4 separate regions of the Homo sapiens genome follow, and all the other regions are linked to region 2. The links are contacts of gene promoters, found by promoter capture Hi-C in blood cells and fetal thymus (Javierre and others, 2016). All regions are on one chromosome and are shown on one strand. Each heading gives the region's core, a stretch centred on a gene start or on the middle of the fragment in contact. The rest is flanking DNA. Distances are from core to core; before and after follow the strand shown. Region 1 overlaps TRIM2 (tripartite motif containing 2). Region 2 holds the start of RNF175 (ring finger protein 175). Region 3 overlaps MND1 (meiotic nuclear divisions 1). Region 4 overlaps MND1 (meiotic nuclear divisions 1).

Region 1 (2,931 bases), core at 343-2,842, 440 kb before region 2:
TGCACGCCTGTAGTCCCAGCTATTCAGGAGGCTGAGGCAGGAGAATTGCATGAACCCAGGAGGTGGAGGTTGCAGTGAGCCGAGATTGCACCACTGCACTCCAGCTGGGACAACAGAATGAGACTTCGTCTCAAAAATAAATAAATAAATAAATAAAAGAATAAGGATTTATATAGATATCAGCAGCAGATAATGGATGTGACAAAGCCAGTTTTCCAAGACAGAAGTTCATTGTGATATATGAGTAGCTGTGTACCCGTTTGAACCTTCAGGTAAATGTTGACCAAAACAGTGTTTATCTTCATGTTCTGTAGTGGTTTAAACTTTGACTCTATACTGTACTTCTATTTCTGTACTTGTTTCAAACAGACAAAAATTGGATCAGGAAAGCTGATGGGACCCAAAGGAGTTTCTGTGGACCGCAATGGGCACATTATTGTTGTGGACAACAAGGCGTGCTGCGTGTTTATCTTCCAGCCAAACGGGAAAATAGTCACCAGGTTTGGTAGCCGAGGAAATGGGGACAGGCAGTTTGCAGGTACACTCGATGGTAATATGTAAACCCCCTTTTTTATGCTTCTTCTGCTCACATTTGCATGATGTTGGAGCATGTTGAAGACACCGCATCCCTAGTGTGTTTGCTGGCTTTGGGAAAGATGCTGGGGATAAAATCTAAGCAAAAGCATGTTTCGTTGCTTGAGCCTTAGTCACCGCCACCCACCCGGCAGTAAGTTGAGCTGCAGTCCTTGTGTGGTTTTTATCGGTGGCAGTTCACAACTCAGAAGTCTAGCTTTGAAATATTCATATTAAATAAGGTATAAATTTTAAAATAAAAATATTTGAAAAACAAGGAATAACTACTGTTTCAGCCTAGCTGTAACTTTGCTTAAAAAGCCACTGAATGAGAATTTTTTTTCACCTTTCTAGGTTATTGTAAGAGAACAGGAGTCTAGAATATTTGCTAGGTTTAAGGAGGGCAGTCTGTTTTACGTCTCTTTGGTGTAGCACTTTGCAATCACAAGCTTATTTAGGTTTTTGCATTTGCAAGAAGAGGCTGAAAATAGCTTATTAATTTTCTTTTTGAAAGGATGCTTTTGGCACTTAGTATTAATTTGCATAATATTTGTTTATGCTTTGTCTCCAGTTCTGCCAAGTTTCTGAATGTCACCCAGAATTATAGTGTGGGTTTTCTGTTGTTTTGTTTTGTTTTGTTTTGTTTTTGAGACAGGGTCTCGCTCTGTCACCCAGGCTGGAGTGCAGTGGCGTGATCTCAGCTCACTGCAGCCTCGACCTCCTGGGTTCAAGTGATCCTCCTGCCTCAGCCCTCCAAGTAGCTGGGACTACAGGCATGTGCCACCATGTCCAGCTAATCAATTTTTAAAAATTACATATTGGAGTCTCTTTTCCAATGCTGAGTTGCCACGTCTTTCCTTGGTGGGAGCTGAGGGCTCTAAAATGACTAACAGATACTCAGGGAAGCTGGCAGATGTGACTTTTAGATGGTGGCACGGAGAATGAATTCTGATGCTTACTGCTCCTCCCACTTCATTAGGGCTGCTAGAACTCCCAGCCTGCTTGAGAAAGAGTCAGAATAGACTGGCGCAAGTAGAGAATAATATAGGATCCATGTTATCTGCAACTGGAGGTCTGGCTGAATGATCTTTCAAAGACTGAGTCTATGATTCTTTGTACTTTCTTAAATAACTAAGTTAATATATTAAGTTTGTTTGTTACAGTAACTGCTATATGTAATCACTTTTGTTGTAGTCATCACATATTTTTTTCCATCTTTATTGCAGGTCCCCATTTTGCAGCTGTAAATAGCAATAATGAGATTATTATTACAGATTTCCATAATCATTCTGTCAAGGTACTACAAGCACATGAGTTGTTGTTAACTTTTAACTGCTTTTATGGAGAAATTGGTCTGCGAGAAAATAATGCAATACTTACATATGGCACCAAAGGGAGTTAACCAGCAGAGTAGACTTTGTTCTGCTCAAAGATGCCGGTTTTAACTTGGACTTACAGACCTTGGAAAGTCAGGAAATTGAATAAAATGTGGTGGCAATAAGTTGCTTAATTTGAAACTGGTGCAAATGAAGAGGACTTGAAAATTAAATTTTAAAAAGCAATTCGTTGAACTTAGAGGCAGAACTTTCTGAAGCTTAATGTTTTGTGGCTAGTCAATAAATTAAAATCACTTTTTCAATTTTCCGCATCTTTTTGTTAAAAAAAAAATTAGATGTTCGACTCTGTTACAACAACAGACAGCATGGGGAGGGGGATAATCCTAGCATACATTCATACAGTATATTTTATACTTCTTAGAATGCTTTCACACATTTGGTGTTCTTTAGAAAACAGTGACCTATAGTATATCTTTCTTACTAGGTACCAGGGGAGAGAGAATTGAACTTTATTATGAGAAAATCAGGAAATAATAAAATGGTTCAAAACACATTACTCACTTACTGAAATGATGAGGAAATATTTAGTAATATCCTAGATCAGGCTTCTCAAGGTGTGATGCATGTTCCACTGAAGGTATGATCCGTGGCCATAGGCAGTACACTGGTGGATATTTTTATTTTAAGTTATGCATTTATTTTAGGGCTACCTTTTGTTTACATCAAGTGATGCTGTTTTGCACTTACAGACATAATAAAGTTTTTCTTTTAAATACATTAATCTAAATTTTAAAAGGTGAGTCATTTTAAAGGAAAAATGATAAGGAAACAGCAGAGGATGGTATGCCAGTGAGTAAAGTTTGCACTTAGAAACAATGACTGAGCAACCAAAATTAATAATGACTTATCAGTGCTAATGACTGCGATAGCTAGATAAGGGGTAGGTTTTTTAACACCCAAAGGTACTCTCTGTGATGTCCTTTCTGCATCCTGGAGAGCCTCTAACCTGAGTAAATGGAGA
Region 2 (2,738 bases), core at 113-2,612:
GCCTAGCCCACCCTTATTTTTTGCTATAAGCATTCCTGACCCCTAGGTTTCTGGCAGTCAGAGTGGACAGTCCCCTCTCTCTGCCTTGTCCCATGGCCATCCATCCCAATATTAAAAAAAAAAAAATCTCCAAGCCATTTGGTACTGTTGTTCCCTCCATCTAGAATTCTCTGGCCCATGAGGTCAGATCCTGTCCATTCCCCAACACCCAGCTCGAATGCCACGCCCTCACGGGTTGGAGGAGAAGGGGGTTAGTCAGGAGCAAGCCCTTCTCAGAAATCCTACAGTTCTTTGCCTGAACCTATTTTGGGACATTAATCTCTTCCTACCCGCTCTGTGAGTGATTTTTGTTGTTGTTTAAGAGTTATCTTTGCCCTTAAGAGTTATTTTTGTCCTCGTTTTACGGATGGGATTTGGGTTCCTCCAGGTAAGACCTACCCTCCTCCACCCCCAAATCCTCCTGGTACCTGGATGTAGCCTAAGAAGAATTGTCCTATGAACGAAGAATAAATTAAGATTGGGTTTGCAATTGACGCCAGCAGAAGCAGAAATGGGCTAGGTTGAGCACCAGGCAAGACAAGCTGACGATCAGGGTACACATCTTGAATCAGAAACCCTGGGCACAGACCAGCAGTCTGCGTGGTAACAGGCCCTCCGAGTGATTCTGATGACACTCGAGTTTGAGAACCAGGGCGGTCTAGCCAAAAGCCTGCAGTACACCCCTTCCCCTCTCTCGCAGCTTACGACCTTGACCCTGGGCTCTGGGGGCTTCCGCCGAGGAGGGAGGAGGGCACAGGCGGTCACAAAGGAGGGCGGGAGTGGAAGGGGTGAGCCTGGAAGAGAAAGTGCGAGGATGCGAGAAGAGGGATGGAGCGAAGGAAGAGGATCAGAAGGAGGAAAGGAAGGTAGCGGGGAGGGCACAGAAGTGGGGAGGGAGGGAGTGGAGGAGGGACTGGCACCCCGCACGGTGGCATCTTCCAGAAGGTCATGCGTCCGTCCCCACGTCTTTCCAGGGCCGGTTCTCCCCGGTGGGGCCCGGGGTCTTGGAGACCAGTCTGTGCAGCCTGCCCGGCACCAGCGTGAGCCCCGGGACCCCGGCCTGGCGTCCCCCACGCCCGCGCCCCCGCGCCAGTACCTGCTCCTGCTGCGGGGGGGCCTCCAGCACCGGCGCTGCCTTCCGCGCCGCCGTCCCCGCGGCCATGCCTGAGCCACTGTGCCTTCTCCAGGGCACAGCGCCTGCCGGGGAGGGTCCCGCAGAGTCCGCAGAAGGAGGCGCCGCGGGGCCTCGGGAGCCGAGGGTGAGAGCCGGATCTGCGGCGGCGGCGGAGCGGCGGCCCTGCCCGGGTTGTGCGGGGCGGGAGATGGGAGCCTCCCGGCACGCCCCGCCTCCGCCCCCTGCACGCTGGCCAGCGTCCTCCCCAGCAGCGGCCTCGAGGTCCCGGTCGCCAGCACCCCGGTTCCTTCAGAACCTCAGGCCTCCCATTCAGCCAGCCATTGTCGCCGATAAAGCGTCTTGAGCCCTACCGGGTGCGTGTGGCGGGAACCCCGGTTTTGTTACCGGGCGGCAGGACTGGAGGAGGGGTCAGAGGTGGGTAGGGAGAGAGAGGGGAGTAGAGGAGTGAGAAATGGCGGTGGGGGGGCGAGGGGTGCTGGGGAGGAAGAGAAGAGAGAGAGAGAGTTTCCTCTCCCTCAGAGGTGTTTATTAGGAGGCAGGAGTTCGGGTGGCTGTGCAGATACAGACTTTCCTCAGTTATCTGTGCTTCCTCCAAAGATGATGAAGGAGAGAAACTCCAATCTAGGGAGAGCGCAGACCATCTTGGCCCCTATGCTGCTCCAGGCCATGCAGGGCCCCTGCGACGCAAGCATCTTGCCTTTGCCCCTCTACCTCCAGGGTCTCCCCTCCCGCCTTTACAACTTAGGCCTAAGCCTGGCTTCAAGGTTGAGAACAAGCTGGAACGTTTAGGCAAGCCTTTAGAAATACCTGGGTGTTGATTTGGGGAAACAGAAAAGAGGAGCACAGAATTAGATGATGTGTCCTACGAAATACAGCTTACCCCTTTCCAGTTTGTGATGGCTCGTATTTGTCAACACCTACAAAGGAGGTGAACAGACCAAGATGGACATTTCTCTGCCATTGTGGAACGTAGAGCCTAACAGGGGATAGAGAAAAATAAGCATCTAAGTACAATTTATCACGGATGGTGCCTTGGTTTTCCAGCCTTAACTGGGCATCAGAATCCTATGGAGGAATGCTGAGTTTGTTAAAACTCAGAGTGCTGGCCAAGCACAGTGGCTGATGCCTTTAATCCCAGCACTTTGGGAGGACAGGGCGGGCGGATTGCTTGAACCTAGGAGTTTGAGACCAGCCTAGGCAACATGGTGAAGCCCCATCTCTATAAAATATACAAAAGTGAGCTGGGCGTGGTACACCTGTAGCCCCAGCTACTCAGGAGGTTGAGGCTGGAGGATCGCCGGAGCCCGGGAGGTTCAGGCTGCAGTAAGCCGTGATGGAACCACTGCACTTCTGCCTGGACAACAGAGCGAGACTCTATCAAAAAACAAAACAAAAATCTTCAGATTGCTGGAGTTGAGCCCTAGAGTTTTTAATATAGTAGGTCTAGGGTGGAGCCTGAGCATTTGTCTTTTGAACAAGTTTTCAGGTGCCGCTGGGGCTGTTACCTACATCTGAAGACTACCTTGTAGCATGATCAGAGTGTGTTGGAAAGAGTGTCTGAGAT
Region 3 (2,711 bases), core at 211-2,710, 380 kb before region 2:
TTCCTTCTCTGTATATGTGGTTGAATTTTGCTGAAAATAATTTGAGGTGTAGTGATTTATTTCTGAAAAGCTGAAATAAATCTTTGTATTGGCTTGGAAAAATAATTGTTAAACTAACATCTCTAGCTGTGACACAGATGCATTTCTGAAGACTTTTAACATAAATTAATAATTTTAATGGGCAAGAAAAGCTTTATGTGGAAGTGATGAAAGTGGTAGTGCATGTTCTAATCTGCTAGTTCTCCTGAAATATATGTAAATTTTTTTAGTATTTGGATGATAGTGAAGCAGCTATTTTGGCTCGACAGATAATAATTATAAAGATTAATTATGTTGTAGAAACTTCCAACTGAAATGACATTTCTCTGTATGCTGAAGAATATATAGAAATTATTAAAAGTCAAGAGATGACTTTTTCTTCTTGATAGCTATTTCTAGAATTTTAGCTGGAACTTGTTCATTTTCCCCCGTGTGGTAATGATTTAGTCACTGTGTGTGTGGATGTGTGTTTGTGGGTGTGTGCACACACACACTTGAAAGAGAAAAGGAGTGAGTGTGTTTGTGGTCTTTCTGAATATTTTTTCTAAGGAAAAGCCAGGTAAAAATGTGTAAGGATAGGTTCTTCCCATCATCTTCTGGTTCTCTTCTTTGCCCTTCCCAAATAACTTGGTCTTAAGAATGAAAGAACAATTCAACTTCAAGGGAATGACTTCCTCCATTTTACTTTGGCTTGTGTTAGTGGACATAGCATGGGGTACTGTGATGTGCACACAGCCAGGAAAGAGCAATGTTGTAACTGTTATGTTTAACCTGCTATTCCCCTGGAGTCACCTGGCAATACAGGAAGTAACTGACCACTACTGACTTGAAATGCACATTTTTTAGTCTTTTTCCAAAAAGAATAGAATTTCCAAAATTTATTTTTGTATTTGTACCCCTGTCCGTCCCTTCCACACTTCCTGTTCTGACTTACATATTCCTTTTCTCTGGTGCTGTGGTACCCCGAGCATAACTCTAATCTGCTGGACTATGCTACAATTGTTGGCTTACTCAACCCCATGTCTTAGTCAACTTGTATCAGTACCTAGCACCGTTTTTGGCATGTGGTAGATTCAAGTATTTGACAAGTGAATGAAAATTAAAGGAAATAAAGGGTATGAAGTTATTCTTAACAAAAACCTTATACTAATTTGGAGAATTTTATTAATATGGCAGCAAGTCTATGTAGTGGTTTTTGACTGAGTTTTATTTAAAGTTAATGGGTCAGAATTATGAAAATCAAAATCTTTATTTTGTTTTCTTCCCCTGCTGACCTCTTCCTTAGTTCTTCATCCAAGTTCTGGTTTATACCCCACTTGTTGCCACTGGAAGGTAGTTTGGGGACATATTTTTTAGGGATTGGCTTATGATAAGGATTACATTTTGAAATCCATACTAAGCTGAATTTTAGATATTGTGTATTGGTTTAGGGAGGACACTAACAGATATTCTTAGGACAACTTAAGTATTTGTTTTGTTTTGTTACCAATTTTTAGAAGTGAATATATACAGTTCTTTATAGCTAAAACTGAGTGCATCAAGAGTAGGTTAATTATTGGGCTGTGTAGATAACTTGAAATGTTTTTGAATAAAAATAGGCATCTCTACTGAAGTTTATTCAGTTCTGTAAATGTTTAGTGAATGCTTGCTATGGCAGGCATTGTGATTGATGAGAGGGACATAAGAATGAATTAGGTAGTTTCTGTTCTCTAGAACCTCTCACTCTAATGAAGAGATGGCCATGTCAACAAATCATTGCAATATGGTGTGATATATGCAATGCTGAAAAATAATGATAGTACAAAAGAGGGTGAAAGTCAGTTCTGCTTCCGAAAAGGCTTTATAGTTAAGGAGACGTGTAAGTTGGTGCTAGAAAGATCTGTGGGAGCTCATAAGGGAATTGAAGGGTGAAGGGCACTATAGCGCAGTGATTTAAGGGAGTAGACTCTAGACCTAGACTCCCTAGATTCAGATTTAACTTCCGCCATTTACATGCTGTGCCTGGCTTTTTTCTTTTTCTTTATCTATAATGGACCAATTATAGTTGTATGTGCCTTGTTCTTTTTGCTTGGAAGTTTTTTAATCCCTTCCTCCTCAGCAGAGTATAATACTTTTTTGTGCTGTGACTGTCTTTTATATATATCTTTTCTCAAGTGAAGTCCTTATGTGCCTTGTTTTCTATGGCAGACTTTCTTTGAAGGCAGGGTCTATATCTTAATCGTTTTCTATCTCCCACGTGGAATGCAGTCTCTGAGACACACTGAAACATACAGAAACATGATGAATTTTGAGTGAATGCATAAATCAATATATCACAGCCTTGTTTCTGTCCCAGCTATTGTGTACTGGGTCCAGTAGTCTTACTCCCTGGCCCATACCTTTTCTTTGACTCCCAGTCTACACATACAGCAGAAAAGGTGGTTTCCATTAAATAGTTATTTTAGTAATCTTGATTTTTTTTCTAGAACTCAGCTTCAGAAATACATATTGTATAGAAATAATTAAATGTGAATTTTTAACTTTTTTTTCTACTAGCTTACCTGAATTATATTTTGCTGGGCCTGAGCTCAGCATTACCCAAAGTAATTCTGTGGAATGGATATATGATAAGTGTTACATAAAAGGGGGTTCTATAATCAAAGGAATTTGAGCAATCCTGGGTTGACAAAGAT
Region 4 (3,136 bases), core at 449-2,948, 350 kb before region 2:
CAGAAATAAACCCAATTGATTTTCAACAAAGGTGCCAAGACCATGGAATCAGGAAAGAAATCATGTTTTTAGCTCATGGTATTGGGCACAACTGGATATCCACATGCAAATGAATTAATCTGAACCCCCACCTTACATCAAAAAAATTAACTCAAATGGATCAAAGACCTACATGGAAGAGCTGAAACTATGAAACTCTTAGAAGAAAACAGATTTATATTTCTTTTTTTTGAGACGGAGTCTCACTCTGTCACCCAGGCTGGAGTACAGTGGCATGATCTTGGCTCACTGCAGGCTCTGCCTCCCGGGTTCAGGCCATTCTCCTGCCTCAACCTCCGAGTACCTGGGACTACAGGCGCCCACCACCACGCCAGGCTAATTTTTTACATTTTTAGTAGAGAGGGAGTTTCACCGTGTTAGCCAGGATGGTCTTGATCTGACCTCGTGATCTGCCCGTCTCGGCCTCCCAAAGTGCTGGGATTACAGGCGTGAGCCACTGTGCCAGGCCGGATTTATATTTCTTTATCCTTGGGTTAAGCAACAATTCCTTGAATATGACACCAAAAGCAGAAACAACCACAGAAAAAGTAGTTAAATGGACTTCATCAAAGTTAAAAAGTTTTGTACAATATCAAGAAAGTAAAAAGAGGCTGGGCGCGGTGTCTCATGCCTGTGATCCCAGCACTTTGGGAGGCCAAGGCAGGTGGATCATGTGAAGCCAGGAGTTTGAGACCAGCCTGGCCAACATGGTGAAACCCCATCTCTACTAAAAATACAAAAATTAGCCGGGTGTGGTGGCACACACCTGTAATCCCAGCTACTCGGGAGGCTGAGGCAGGAGAATCGCTTGAACCAGGAAGGCAGAGGTTGCAGTGAGCCAAGATTGTACCACTGCACTCCAGCCTGGGTGACAGAGACTCCATCACAAAAAGAAAAAAAGAAAGTAAAAAGTGAACTCAGGATGGAAGAAAATAGTCACAAGTCCTGTATCTGACAAGTGTCTAGTATCCAAAATATATAAAGAACTCATAATACAACAATAAAAAGACAACCCAGTTGAAAAATGAGCAAAGGATATGAACGGACACTTCCCCCAAGAAGATACACAGATGGCCAATAAGCACATGAAAAGATGCACAAAATCATTAGCAAATGCAAATCAGAACCCCAGTGAGATACTACTTCACACTTCTATTAGTCTGTTTTCACACTGCTAATAAAGACATACCTGAGACTTGGCAATTTACAAAAGAAAGAGGTTTATTGGACTTACGGTGCCACGTATTTGGGGAAACCTCACAATCATGGTGGAAGGTGAAAGGTACGTCTCACATGGTGGCAGACGAGAAGAGAGCTTGTGCAGGGAAACTCCCATTTTTAAAGCCATCAGATCTTGTGAGACTCATTCACTATCATGGGAACAGGGCAGGAAAGACCCGCCCTCATAATTCAATCACCTCCCACTGGGGTCCTCCCACAACACGTGGGAATTGTGGGTGTTACAATTCAAGATGAGATTTGAGTGGGGACACAGCCAAACCATATCAACACCCATTAGGATGGCTATAATGTAAAAATAGAAAATAATGAGGCCGGGCACGGTGGCTCACGCCTGTAATCCCAGCACTTTGGGAGGCCGAGGCAGGCGGATCACCTGAGGTTGGGACTTGGAGACCAGCCTGACCAACATGGTGAAACCCTATCTCTACTAAAAATACAAAATTAGCTGGGTGTGGTGGCACATGCCTGTAATCCCAGCAACTCAGGAGGCTGAGGCAGGAGAATTGCTTGAACCTGGGAGGTGGAAGTTGCAGTGAGCCAAGACCGCGCTATTGCACTCCACCCTGGGCAATGAGCAAAACTCCATCTCAAAAAAAAATAGAAAATAATAAGTGATGAGAATGTGGAGAGACTGGAACTCTTAGATTGCTGGTGGTATTATAAAGTGGTGCTACCACTTTGGCAAACAATTTATCTCTTCGCCAAAATATATACCCAAGATAATTGAAAATATGTCCACACAAAAATTATTCGTATTAGCAGAAACAGCCCAAATGTCCATCAGCTGATGAATGGATAAGCAAATTGTAAAATAGTACTTCGCATAAAAAAGAATGAGGTATTGATACATGAATGAACCTTGAAAACATTGTGTTAAGTGAGAGAGGCCAGACCTAAAAGACCACATATCGTATGTTTCGTTCATATGAAATGTACACAAAAGGGAAATCCATAGAGAAAAGACAGCAACTAGGTTAGTAGTTGCCAGGGGACGGAGGGAGAAGGAATGTGGAGTGAGTGCTAAGGGGCACAAGGGTTTTTTCTGGGTGATGAAAAAATGTTCTGGAATTAAATAGTAGTAATGGTTGTACAATTTTGTGACTATCATAAAAACCACTGAAAGCCAGGCATGGTGCCCCATACCTGTAATCCCAGCACTTTAGGAGGCCAAGATGGGGTGGATCACTTGAGGCCAGGAGTTGGAGGCCAACCTGGGCAACATAGCAAGACCCCTATCTCTACAAGAAATGAGCTGGGCATGGTGGCGCATGCGTGTAGTCTCAGCTGCTCAGAAAACTGAGGCAGGAGGATTGCTTAAGCCCGCCAGTTTGAGGCTGCAGTGAGCTATGATCACACCATGGTACTCCAGCTTGGGAGACAGAGTGAGACCCAGTCCCTAAATAAGTAAATAAATAAATAAAAATTACTGAATTATATAGTTTACTATGCTGAATTTTGTGACATATAAATTATCTTTCAATTAAAAATGCCATCATTGTAAGTAATAGTTAATGCCCCATTAATCATGGCATTGTTACATGCTGTGCAGAGTAACTCGAAGTACATAATATACATACAGATACATTTGATAGCACGATGTGTATTTAAAGTAAAAGTAAATACTTCCCGCTATGAGATTACTTTCTTATCCCTAAAATTTTTTTTAGAGTCACACTTATTGTGGTCTTATAATGCCTATATAGTAAAATTCTTATCGTTAAATTTAACTTATTTTGTTGTATTTTGGTATGGTGAGTTGTTTGAAAAACATCTCATTTAAACTTACATGTTGTCTTTAAAGGAGCAAGTACAATGATGATGGACACTTAGGAAAGGGAAATTGTTCACTTTGACT

The links. The method cuts DNA at HindIII sites, captures the fragments that hold promoters and counts their contacts. A CHiCAGO score of 5 or more calls a contact.
Region 1: a fragment that was not itself captured here is called in contact with the fragment with the promoter of RNF175 in region 2 in 2 of 17 cell types (activated CD4 T cells and M2 macrophages); the score reaches 5.2 in activated CD4 T cells.
Region 3: a contact is called between a fragment that was not itself captured here and the fragment with the promoter of RNF175 in region 2, in 1 of 17 cell types (neutrophils). The highest score is 6.2, in neutrophils.
Region 4: a contact is called between a fragment that was not itself captured here and the fragment with the promoter of RNF175 in region 2, in 1 of 17 cell types (neutrophils). The highest score is 5.7, in neutrophils.

The regions. Positions count from the first base shown.
Region 1 is chr4:153,322,279-153,325,209 of GRCh38, forward strand. TRIM2 (tripartite motif containing 2) reads left to right here. Exons shown (of 12, transcript NM_015271.5): 9 at 370-538; 10 at 1,800-1,870. Among named protein-coding and RNA genes, the nearest start is that of MND1, 21 kb to the right of the region's middle. The HindIII fragment of the contact is 1,145 bases long and covers 1,021-2,165 here.
Region 2 is chr4:153,758,662-153,761,399 of GRCh38, forward strand. It overlaps RNF175 (ring finger protein 175), which reads right to left and starts at 1,363. Exons shown (of 9, transcript NM_173662.4): 1 at 1,136-1,363. The coding sequence starts at 1,201. The HindIII fragment of the contact is 8,763 bases long and covers 1-2,738 here.
Region 3 is chr4:153,375,780-153,378,490 of GRCh38, forward strand. The region is part of intron 4 of MND1 (meiotic nuclear divisions 1); the gene reads left to right. Among named protein-coding and RNA genes, the nearest start is that of MND1, 32 kb to the left of the region's middle. The HindIII fragment of the contact is 2,543 bases long and covers 190-2,711 here.
Region 4 is chr4:153,405,592-153,408,727 of GRCh38, forward strand. All of the region lies in intron 6 of MND1 (meiotic nuclear divisions 1), which reads left to right. Among named protein-coding and RNA genes, the nearest start is that of TMEM131L, 59 kb to the right of the region's middle. The HindIII fragment of the contact is 8,859 bases long and covers 1-3,136 here.